Regions from separate parts of the Homo sapiens genome. Here region 1 is linked to region 2. Evidence: promoter capture Hi-C in 16 types of primary human blood cells and fetal thymus (Javierre and others, 2016). All regions are on one chromosome and are shown on one strand. The core of a region is centred on a gene start or on the middle of the fragment in contact, and the rest is flanking DNA. Distances in the headings are between cores, read along the strand shown. Region 1 overlaps GFPT1 (glutamine--fructose-6-phosphate transaminase 1). Region 2 holds the start of PNO1 (partner of NOB1 homolog).

The links. Contacts are between HindIII fragments. The CHiCAGO score rates a contact against its expected background, and 5 or more counts as called.
Region 1: a contact is called between a fragment that was not itself captured here and the fragment with the promoter of PNO1 in region 2, in 1 of 17 cell types (neutrophils). The highest score is 6.0, in neutrophils.

Annotation. Positions count from the first base shown.
Region 1 is chr2:69,377,034-69,383,304 of GRCh38, forward strand. The region is part of intron 1 of GFPT1 (glutamine--fructose-6-phosphate transaminase 1); the gene reads right to left. Among named protein-coding and RNA genes, the nearest start is that of GFPT1, 7.1 kb to the right of the region's middle. RefSeq lists an enhancer at 4,438-4,487. The HindIII fragment of the contact is 6,399 bases long and covers 1,425-6,271 here.
Region 2 is chr2:68,154,085-68,160,265 of GRCh38, forward strand. It overlaps PNO1 (partner of NOB1 homolog), which reads left to right and starts at 3,804. Exons shown (of 7, transcript NM_020143.4): 1 at 3,804-4,057; 2 at 4,296-4,445. The coding sequence starts at 3,851. DNAAF10 (dynein axonemal assembly factor 10) reads right to left here and starts at 3,443. Exons shown (of 8, transcript NM_138458.4): 1 at 3,177-3,443. The coding sequence starts at 3,359. RefSeq lists enhancers at 2,686-3,618, 3,076-3,215, 3,496-3,735, 4,016-4,115. The HindIII fragment of the contact is 6,016 bases long and covers 1,380-6,181 here.

The DNA.
Region 1 (6,271 bases), core at 3,374-5,873, 1.2 Mb after region 2:
CTCCGTCTCCACAAAAATACCAAAATTAGCCAGGCATGATGGCAGGTGCCTGCAATCGCAGCTACTCAGGCGGCTGAAGCAGGAGAATTGCTTGAACCTGGGAGGCAGAGGTTGCAGTGAGCTGAGATCGTGCCACTGCACTCTAGCCTGGGCAACAGAGCAAGACTCCGTCTCAAAAAAAAAAAAAAAAAAAAGATTAAGTAATGCAATATTAAATTCACTGTTTTTAATAATGTAACTCAACAACAGCATTCAACTTTAATAATACTTCTAACTCCAATCTCCTTGGTTTATAATGGCTCACTATATGAATCTTGAGAGCTTAAGAACATTTTGGCTGGGCACAGTGGCTCACACCTGTAATCCCGACACTTTGGGAGGCCGAGGCGGGCGGATCACGAGGTCAGGAGTTCAAGACCAGCCTAACCAACATGGTGAAACCCCGTCTCTACTAAAAATAAAAATAAAAAAAAAAAAATAGCCAGCTGTGGTGGCACGTGCCTGTAGTCTCAGCTACTCGGGAGGCTGAGGCACGAGAATAGCTTGAACCTGGGAGGCAGAGGTTGCAGTGAACCTAGACTGCACCACTGCACTCCAGCCTGGGCAACAGAGCAAGACTCCGTCTCAAAAAAACAAACAAAGAAACAAACAAAAAAGTAACAGAGCTAGAAGAAGGAAGGGGATTAGCCTCAGACATACCTGATGAGGAAAATGGGAGCTAAGAAGTTGAACCTGTCAGTTTCATAGCCCTGTCCCTTGATAGCACTACTAGCCCAAGACATTCCACCTGCGGGGATACCGGGTTAACTGTAATCTTGGGGTGCCCGAGACAATACTGGCAGCAATTCATCAGGTACACAGGGCATGTTCACAAGGGAGGCATTCACAACTCACAATGATGCTTGTTAGAGCAGAAATCGTTAGTCTGACCTCTATTTTCAGGTCTTTGACTTGTCTTATCAAAACTCCCAATAAACAGTTTTTTGTTTTTTGTTTTTTTGAAACAGAGTCTCGCTTTGTCGCCAAGGCTGGCGCCATCTCAGCTCACTGCAACCTCCACCTCCCAGGTTCCAGCAATTCTCCTGCCTCAGCCTCCCAAGTAGCTGGAATTACAGTGGCCGCCGCCATGCCCGGCTAATTTTTTGTATTTTTAGTAGAGATGGGGTTTCGCCATGTTGGCTAGGCTGGTCTCGAACTCCTGACCTCAGGTGATCCACTCGCCTCAGCCTCCCAAAGTGCTAGGATTACAGGCATAAGCCACTGCACCCGGCCTAAACTCCCAATAAACAGTTCTTAAGTAAGGTAATGACAAAAGCCTAATATCAACTTTCCGCCACTCTTCAGTAATTGCTCTAAGAGCACACACAGTAGCTGTATAAGCATAGATTCTCTACCCCCAAATCAGCATGCACTTCACAAGTGTAAGCTTTCTTACTAATGGAATATACTTGGAATAAAATAACTCCATAACTGAAGCAGATGCTTGAACCTACAGGCATCATTCTCAATAAATGGCAACTTAAATTCAATGACAAAAAAGCAATTATGAGCACCTTGCTAACAAAATTTCAGAAGCAATCTGGATCACAGACTAGACACACCTGGTTGAAAGCAATGTAGCTGCAAATACAGACTGTTAAACCTTACTGAAAAGAAAACTGACTCGTCAAATTATTAAAATTCCTATGTCTGGTTGCATTTATGTCCTTATGAATACTAAATTTTATTTTTATATATTTTATCATTTGACAGCTGCAATATTTTGGGACCCTAAACATTGTAACTTATCAGTGATAAGTGTTCAAATTCATTCTCTAAACTTAAAACTTCTGAATCAAAATCTACCTACAATGTCACTTAAACTCTAAATTTTATTTTTCTTATAATGCTAGTCACAAATTAATTCATCACCATCATTAAAAATTCAAAGTAGGCCAGGAGCAGTGGCTCACATCTGTAATCCCAGCACTGTGGGAAGAGAGGCAGAGGTTACTTGAGCTCAGGAGTTCGAAACCAGCCAGGGCAACATACCAAGACCCTGTCTCTATTAAAATTTGAAATAAATAAATAAATATTAAAACTATACAGATGCTACAGAATTGTGAAAATCTCTCCTTTCTGTCTCCACACAGGTTCCAACCCCTTTCTCAGAGATAACTACTGTTATTCCCATACACACACTCCCAGTCCTTCAGCTATAAATTTTTCTACAGGCCAGGCACAGTAGCAGATACCTGTAATCCCAGCACTTTCGTAGGCCAAGGCGGGAGGATCATGGGCAGGAGTTTGAGATCAGCCTGGGCAATACAGGGAGACCCTGCCTCTACCAAAAATAAAAAATTAGGCATGGTGGTGCATGCCTGTAGTCCCAGATACTTGGAAGGCTGAGGTGAGAGAATCACTTGAGCCCAGGGGTTCAAGGTTGCAGTGAACTAGTCAATATTATAATTATGGAATCACATTCTACATTTAAGATTTCTTTAAAATTAAGTATTATTTGAGATACATTTTCTTTTTTCTTTTCACCAGGGGTCTGCTCTGTCGCCCAGGCTGGAGTACAGTGGCACAATCCCAGCTCATTAAAACCACCACCTCCTGGACTCAAGTGATCCCCTCATCTCAGCCTCCCAAGTAGCTGGGACCACAGGCACATGCTAATGTGCCTGTAATTTATTTATTTATTTACTTATTTATTTTTAATTTTTGAGATGGAGTTTTGCTCTTGTCGCCAAGGCTGGAGTATAGTGATGCGATCTTGGCTCACTGCAACCTGTCTCCCAGGTTCAAGCAATTCTCCTGCCTCAGCCTCTGGAGTAGCTGGGATTACAGACGTAAGCTACCACGCCCAGTTATTTTTTTATTTCTTGTAGAAATGAGGTCTTACTACATTGCCCAGGCTGGTCTCGAACTCCTGGACTCAAGCGATCCTCTTGTTTCGGCCTCCCAAAGTGCTGGGATTACAGGCATGAGCCAATGCATCCAGCCAAGGTACATCTTCTACAATCCTAAAAGCACATATAAAGGCCAGATGCCGTGGCTCACGCCTGTAATCCCAGCAATTTGGGAGGCTGAGGAGGGTGGATCACTTGAGGTCAGGAGTTCGAGATCAGCCTGGCCAACATGGTGAAACCCCGTCTCCATTAAAAATACAAAATTCCTAGCCAGGCATGGTGACGCGTGCCTGTCCCAGCTACTCAGGAGGCTGAGGCAGAAGAATCACTTGAGCCCAGGAGGTGGGGCAGAGGGTGAAGTGGGCCGAGATTGCGCCACTGCACTCCAGGCTGGGCGACACAGTGAGACTCTGTCTCAAAAAAATAAAAAATGTAAAAGTAAAATAAAATAAATCACACATACAAAAATAACATATGGAGTGAAACAATTAAGACTTTCAATTATTTGTGTGTTTAATTGGTTCATGTCTCCCCTACTTTACTGTAACTATTGCCACTAGAAGGGGCTCCATGACACGTCTCTTGCACATTTAACATTCTGGAGCTCAAATCACTAGTTAAGTCATGACATCTCTATACATTCCCTCACAGTCAACCTATGTCATCATCTTTCTTGAGAAAAAAAAGCATGTACTTCCTGCTCACAATCTTCAAATATTCCATCTCTCTCTCTTCTGACCATTCACATCAGACTACAATTTTTCATCATACTGCCAAGTCAAACCCTCTGGGTCCACTGTGCTCTGACTCCTAGTCTCTGAGCATCTCTACACTGAACTATGACAGCCAAGGAGAACTCATCTATCCTATCCATTTCGGTCCACTTTCGGATGGGCCCTCCGAACTGCTGACCAATCCTATTAATTCATCACTTGCTTAACTTTCAAACTTCTCCCAGATATTATTTTAGAGTCTAAGCTACATACTACTCTCAAATCCTCATTTTCTCTTCCCAGCTTCTTTTTCATTTTTGGTAGATTCTTACTTTATAGAATTAAAGTCTTTTTTTTTTTTAGACAGAGTCTCGTTCTGTCACCCAGGCTGGAGGGCAGTGGCGCTATCTCAGCTCACTGCAACCTCCACCTCCTGAGTTCAAGCGATTCTCCCGCCTCAGCCTCTTGAGCAGCAGCTGGGATTACAGGCGTGTGTTACCACGCCTGGCTAATTTTTGTATTTTTAGCAGTGACAGGGTTTCACCACGCTGGCCAGGCTGGTCTCGAACTCCTGACCTCAGGTGATCTGCCCGCCTCGGCCTCCCAAAGTGCTGGGATTATAGGCGTGAGCCACTGCGCCTGGCCAGAATTAAAGTCTTCATTTTCTTTTTTTGTTTTTAAAATATAGAGACAAGGTCTCAATATGCTGTCCGGGCTGGTATCAAACTCCAAGCCTCAAGTGATCCTCCCACCTCAGCCTCCCAAAATGCTGAGTTCACAAGCATGAGTCACTGCCCCTCACCCATCTTCTTTTCAACAGTTTAACAATATATAAATACTTCTCATCCTTCCTTGTAATCTCAAGAGAGACATATTACACATACTACTCTCTGAAGCTAGCCTCTCCCCTACTTGTAACTTTTTTTTTTTTTTTTAACAGTCCTGCTCTGTCACCCAGTACCCAGGCTGGAGTGCAGCAGCACAATCATAGCTCACTGCAGCCTCAAACTCCTGGACTCAATCCTCCCACCTCAGTCTTCTAAGTAGACTGGACTACAGGTATGCACCACCATGCCTGGCTAATTTTTTTTTTTTTAATAGAGATGGGATCTCACTATGTTGCCCGGGCTGATCTTGAACTCCTAGCGTCAAGCAATCCTCCTGCCTCAGCTTCCTGAGTGGCTGGGATTACAGGTGTAAGCCAAAACACTGGCTACTTATAACTCTTTTTTTTTTTTTTAATTGAGACAGAGTGTCACTCAGTCACCCAGGCTGGGGTACAGTGGCGTGTTCTCAGCTCACTGCAACCTTCACCTCCCAGGTCCAAGCACTTCTCCTCCCTTAGCCTCCCAAGTAGCTGGGATTACAGGTGCGTACCACAACAGCTGGCTAATTTTTGTATTTTTAGTAGAGATGGGGCTTCGCTATGTTGGCCAGGCTGGTCTCAAACTCCTGACCTCAAGTGATTCGCCCACCTCAGCCTCCCAAAATGCTGGTATTACCAGAGGGAACCCCACACTGGGCCTTACTCCTAACTCTTGATGAGTGTTTCTCCAACTTTGTAAATACAGAACTCTTTTGTTAACATCAAAATATTCTGAGGCTCCTTCACAACAATGGGTTAAATTTTTATTATTCAATGATCTAGAACAATCTTTATTCAACTTACAGACAAAGTTATAAGCATATGAATAAGCAATGAACACCCTGTAACAACTTCAGGGCTTGTAGGTCAGGAACCACAGCTCTAGAATTCAACTTCTCAACACTCCCAGGGGACCTCAATCCCAAAATCCTCTTCTTTTTCATATTACTTGCAGCCCTCCTCCTAAACACAAACTGAGACCCTTCTGCCTTGACATATGCAATTTCTCTAATAATTTCTTCATAACCATATCCAATTAACTTCTCTGCAGTATTACATATGAATGACCTTTTTCTACTTTTATAGACTCTGTTCAAGGCAATATACTACTTTGGAACTCTTCTGCCTTTAACCACTGTTCCTTGGTCTGTTTTCCTGGCACTTCTATTTCCTCCTTCATCTGGTAGTAGTTCTCAAACTATTTCCGCCTCCATTCACTGACGGTTAACATATGCCATTAATGATTACCTCTCACAGTATACTAATACTCTACAAGTTGAGTAAAAGTCCTGCCCCATCACCCAGAACATTCCTGAACCTAACACAGAAACCCAAACCCCAGAGCTCTCCAGTCTCTAAATTTCTACTCATTCTACTTGTGGTCTATGACATGGCAATGAACAAGGACTGTGTATTTTCACCTGAAGCTGTTGCATGTGCATTCATTTTCTTTCCTCTGATCAGGCAGCAATTTCTTGAAGGCAACTCTCTTATTTTAGTCATCTCTGCAAAGGGCAGAGTGCCAAGTATAAAGCCATCATTTCAAATACCTGCAAGTATCTTCTAACACTTTCTAGGCACCTGAAATATACGGTCAAAAAATTCTCAAACCACAGAAACAGAACACTATTTCACCGGATGCTAAAAAGGAATGAAGTAAAGAAAGGTTTCATAATTAAAGGTTTAAGAACTACCTGGTTAAAGTTAGGTATATATTTAGAACTTTCTGGAACCTTTAATCTTGCTAATTGTGAATCTCCAAGAGCAGAATTTCCCAAACTTGTGTTACAAAACCCTTTCCC
Region 2 (6,181 bases), core at 2,554-5,053:
TTTTACCCTCTTTTTGGACAGTAGGCTCTTTAGGAGAAAGGACTCAACTTTTAAATCTCTTCGGTCCTTGTTAAACACAGTACCTTGAAATAGTGTGTTCTCAGACAACTCATGGTAGAAAAAAAGAATATCCAAAGGATTCAGGTGAAAATATACTTCTTTTTTCTTTTTTTATTTTTTGAGACGGAGTCTTGCTCTGTCACCCACGCTGGAGTGCAGTGGCGCGATCTCGGCTCACTGCAAGCTCTGCCTCCCAGGTTGAAGCCATTCTCCTGCCTCAGCCTCCTGAGTAGCTGGGACTACAGGCGCCCGCCACCACGCCCGGCTGATTTTTTGTATTTTTAGTAGAGACGGGGTTTCACCGTGTTAGCCAGGATGATCTCGATCTCCTGACCTCATGATCCACCCGCCTCGGCCTCCCAAAGTGCTGGGATTACAGGCGTGAGCCACCACACCCGGCGTGAAAATACACTTAGTGGTTATTCCTGGCATTGAGATTATGGGTGATATTTTCTTCGTTTTCCTATTTTCTAAATGTTCTATCGTGGACACATATTATTTTTGCTACAAAAGAAAATTATCTTTTTAAAATTTGCTGAAATTCCCCAGAGTCGCTACAAAAGACAAACTACTCTATTCCACTTGATGGAGTAAGTGTACTTTTGAAATACATACAAATCATATATTTTCATTTTATTATTTTTTGAGACAGGGTCTCTCTGTCACCCAGGATGGAGTGCAGTGGTGCGAACACAGCATCCTTGACCTCCTGGGCTCAAGAGATCCTCCCACCACAGCCTCCCAAGTAGCTGGGACTACAGGCTCGCATCACTATGCCCAGCTAATTTTTGTATTTTTTTTATACAAAAAGTAGAGACGGGGTTTCCCCATGTTGCCTAGGCTGGTCTTGAACTCCTGGGCTCAAGCAATCCACCCCACTGCCTCCCAAAGTGTTGGAATTGCAGGCGTTAGCCACTGCACCAGGCCTGTTCTTATTTTAAAAAGTCACAGGTCTAAGCCCTGATCCTGCCACTGCACTCCATCGTAGGCAAGAGTGAGACCCTGTTTCAAAAAAAAAAAAAAAATTTCAATCATGTCCCATTTTTCTTCGAAAAAGGAATAAATGGCCAGGTGCAATGGCTCATGTCTGTAATCCCAGCACTTTGGGAGCCCAAGGCGGGTGGATCACCTAAGGTCAGGAGTTTGAGACCTGCCTGACCAACATGGTGAAACCCCATCTCTACTAAAAATACAAAAAAATTAGTTGGGCGTGGTAGCATGTGCCTGTAATTCCAGCTACTAGGGAGGCTGAGGCAGGAGAATCGCTTGAACCTGGGAGGCAGAGGTTGCAGTTAGCCAAGATCACGCCACTGCACTCAAGCTTGGGTGACAGAGCCAGACTCCGTCTCAAAAAAAAAAAAGAAAGAAAGAAAAGAAAAAGGAATAAATCCTTTAAATACCTTTTCTTTTTAATGGTGGCTCACACCTGATCCAGCACTTTGGGAGGGAGAGGCGGGAGGATGGTTTGAGCCCAGGAGTTCCAGGCTGCGATGAGCTATGACAGTAGCACTGCACTCCGGACTGGGACAGAGCTACGCCATCCCTAAACAACAACAACAAAAAACAAAAACAACCCAAAATGCAATGTAAAGAAATTTTACTTTGTGTAGAAATCAGGAAGGGCATCATACATTAGATAATCTGAACTGAACATTGGAATAGCAACAGGTAGCCAGGCTTGGTGGCTCACGCCTGTAATCCCAGTATTACGGGAGGCCGATGTAGGCAGACTGCTTGAGCCCAGGAGTTGGAGACCAGCCTAGGCAACACGGTGAAACCCCATCTCTACCAAAATAAAAAATAAAAAAATAAAAAGTACAAAAAAATTAGTTAGGTGTGGTGGCACACACCTGTAGTCCCAGCTACTTGGGAGGCTGAGGTGGGGAGGCGGAGGTTGCAGTGAGCTGTGTTTGCACCACAGCACTCCGGGCTGGGTGACAGATTGAGACCCTGTCTCAAAAAAAAAAAAAAAAAAAAAAAAGCCACTGGTTACCAGAAGCTAAGTGATGAACAATACAAGGAACGAAGGAAAGGTAGAAAAAAATAAGCCATGTTTCATGTTTGTCATTCAGGGAAACTTAAAGCGGGATGGGGTCTTACATACTTTCTATTCTAGGCTTAACAGTCCAAATTGTATTCATCCTTTATCTACCAGTTTAATCCCTACCTCCTCCAAGCAGATTCTCTCCATAGGTTTTGATCCCCAGAGTTAACCTACCCTGCACTTGTAGTCTATTACAACCCTGATCTGATAATGACTGATCATTTTTTCAGGTAACAAAATCAACACTTTTTAAAAACTATAAACAGCTATAAAATGCTAGTTACTATCATTATTCTCTAATTCTTTCACTAGTAATCTTCAAAAAAACCTTGCAAACCTAATCTTTCCACACCCTGCTTAAATCCTTTCAGTTGTGTCCGTTTTTTCTTAGAAAAAAGGCATAAATCCTTTGAATGTCCTACAGATCTTGCAATGTCTGGTTCCTGCTTATCCCTCTAGTTTCTTAAGGAGATAAACTTCTTCCCATCACTGAGCTTCTGCATGTGCAGAAGCCCTGGAAACCTTGTCCTTTACTCCTAGTTTGACCTAGTTAGCTTCTGCACATACCAAAATCTGTTTTCATTCATCCCAAATCTGTTTTCACTCTCATTGAACCGTAACCGTGTTCCTTTGTGTGAGACAACTCATCTCGGTTTGTATTTATGTATCGTTGCTTTGATTATTGAACTGAGTATCTCTCCCACTAGAAAATAAACTCCATGAGATGGGGGACATTACCATTCACATCCCTGGGAATACCAGGCACTCAGCTGATGCCTGTCGAATGTGTTAGGTTGCCTCTTCCAACCACACTGCAGGCATCCTGGTGCCCGCTTTGGCTGGACTGCACTGGGGGTGGCAGGACGGTTGGGCGCGGAGGAACTACCCCGCGGATGAGAAGAAAGGTTTTAAATAGGAAACATTCCTCAGTCGGCGGTCAGCTTCTCTGGTCTCGCGCGGCTCAAGCCATGCTTTGGGGGACGCTGGGCGAAGGCTCTGGCAAAGAGGAATGCAGACCCCAGGATCCGCACTCGCCCCCAACGGCAGTCCGGATCCTCGACCCGGCACCCACCTCCCGAAGCAGCTTCAGGTCCCCGTGCTGGATCTCGTACAGCTGAATGACGCCGGTGCCCCGTGCGAAGTTGCCCATGGTCACAAATTTGGCGCTGCAGGGCACCCACTTACAGTCAAACACCGTGTAGTTGAAGCCCTTCTGGATATGGGCGATGATCTGAGGCTTCTCGAAGGCCGACATGGTGCAGCCAATTTCAGCTACGGCAACCGCCACACCCAGAGCCCCCAAAAACGGCAACCTGGAAACCAGACTCCAAACATTGGCAATTTGTCCCTCCCGCTTTCCGTATTCTGCCCCAGATGCCCTGGCATGTTGGCTGTAGTTATCCCCGGATAATGCCAGATGCGCTCCTGCGATCGCACAGAATGTTCCTTCACAACAGCACGAATTTGTTTATCGCCTTTACCCACTGCCTTTCGCACACATACATACTAGAGATTACAAAATACTTGGGCTGGGAGTTGCGCGGCTGGAGTGAGCCCAAGACCATCAGGCATATCTTAGGACAGCCTAACCCCGTTTTCCCCCCCACCGGCCCCAAATCCTGCAGGTCCCCGGCCTGTGACGTTTTAGGAAAGGGGCGGAGCTGCAGGGGTGGTTGGCTGAGGCTGGCTTCTGCGTGGTGCAGCTGCGCACGTGTTTCAGCCGGCAGCGCTTTAAGATTTCCGGGGATGGAATCCGAAATGGAAACGCAGAGCGCCAGGGCAGAGGAGGGCTTTACCCAGGTCACCCGCAAGGGTGGCCGACGGGCGAAGAAACGACAGGCTGAACAGCTGTCCGCAGCAGGAGAGGGCGGGGATGCGGGCCGCATGGACACAGAGGAGGCCAGGCCGGCGAAGAGGCCCGTCTTCCCACCCCTCTGTGGGGACGGGCTCCTGGTATGTGGCTGGGACCCTAGGACAGCAACGAGGCAAGGGCCAGACGCGGATCAAGCCGATGGCCTCTGGAGAATGTTGAAGCTGCGGTGGGGCTGTTCTGCCGTGATGCTCAGAGAGAAGTGATTCTTTGAAGTGTAACTAGTTCAGTTAAAGGAGGCCCTTTGTGGATCAGATGTCATTTTAAACTCCATCACCGTCCCTCCATAGCCTTCTGAGTTGTGTGTTCTTTTATTTACAGAGTGGGAAAGAAGAAACAAGGAAAATTCCAGTCCCAGCTAACAGATACACACCATTGAAAGAAAACTGGATGAAGATATTTACTCCTATTGTGGAACATTTGGGACTTCAGATACGCTTTAACTTGAAATCAAGGAATGTAGAAATCAGGGTAAGGAAAATCTCAATCATTTCCCAATACACCAGGCTTTCTCTCCTACAGAGATGAAAAGGCATGAATAGGCTTTACTTAATGGGACTTTTCTGTTGTATGGTTTTTGTCCAGTTTAAAAATTTACCATATTGAGTTTGAACTTCCCAAATGCCTTAAAAATCTGCATTCGATACAAATATTAATTGAATTTGTAAATTAGTTCTGAGATCACACCAAAATACTGGCTCTTCTTCTGTGTATCTTTTATAATGTTCTATGTCAAATTGAGAAAAGGTCGAGTAAAGAGATTGCCATAAACAGAAGCAGGTAAATAATGAATATAAGCACTTGCTGCTTTACAAGAAGTATATACAGTCAGCGTCGGGAATATGTTCTGGGATATGTTTTGTCAGATGACTTAGTCCTTGTGCGAATATTATAGAGTGTACTTACACAAACCTAGATGGTATGTGTATATTTGTTTATATATTTTTTTCATATGGAAAACCAAATGTCCCAGCACCATTACTGAATATCAGTCATTTCATCTACTTGATCTGCATTGCCGGTATCCAGTGCCATATATCAGGTTTCTGTATATTCTCCATTATACTGTTATGAGACCACCATGGTATGAGCGGTTGGTCACTGATCAAAATGTCATTATGCAGTGCATGACTGTGTTTTAATGGTGCTCTTTTGATTAAAAAATGTATTATTTTGATAAGAAACATGCATATATATGTGTGTGTGTGTGTGTGTGTGTGTATATATATCTTTTTATTTTGCTCTTTCACCCAGGCTGGAGTGAGTGGCATGATCTTGGCTCACTGTTAACAGGTGCCTGCCACCAAACCTGGCTAATTTTTGTATTTTTAGTAGAGACTGGGTTTTAGCATGTTGGCCAGGCTAGTCTCGAACTCCTGACCTCAGGTGATCACATCTCGGCCTCCCAAAGTGCTGGGATTACAGGCGTGAGCTGCCCCACCGAGCCTATGTATATATTTTAAATTCTGTGCTATCAATCCGGGAATTAGACATTTAAATTTACTTTGGGCTTTCTTTTCTGGGTGCCAATTTCATACCAGAATCGATAACCGAAATTAATTATATTTTCCTTTTTAAGGATTCTTTTACCATCATCCGGACTGGTATAGTCTCATCTCTGTTAATGGAATATAATAATGGAACAAAGAAAGGCACTATTCTAAATAGTTGATAAAGTGTAAAATATCATAGAACATGATAGAGTAACTCCTCTTTGTCCCTGTTGCCATTCTCTCATTCAGGCTTTTATGGTTTCCTGCCAAGGAGTGGTTTCGTTGTAGGTTTCCCTTGCTTCATTGTTTGACGTCTCTCCTTTCTCCACTCATCCATCTGCCAGTGCCAGATTAAGTTTCCCAGATCACAATGCTTTTATGACATCCTGGCATCTTCAAAAAACAAAAAAAAATTTTTTTTTTTTTTTTTTTTTTGAGATAGAGTCTTGCTCCGTTGCCCAGGCTGGAGTGCAGTGTCGCAATCTCGGCTCACTGCAAGCTCCGCCTCCTGGATTCATGCCATTCTCCTGCCTCAGCCTCCTGAGTAGCTGGGACTACAGGCACCCACCACCACGCCCGGCTAATTTTTTGTATTTTTTAGTAGAGACAGGGTTTCACCGTGTTAGCCAGGATGGTCTTGATCTCCTGACCTCATGATCTACCCGCCTCTGCCTCCCAAAGTGCTGGGATTACAGGCGTGAGCATCTTCAACAT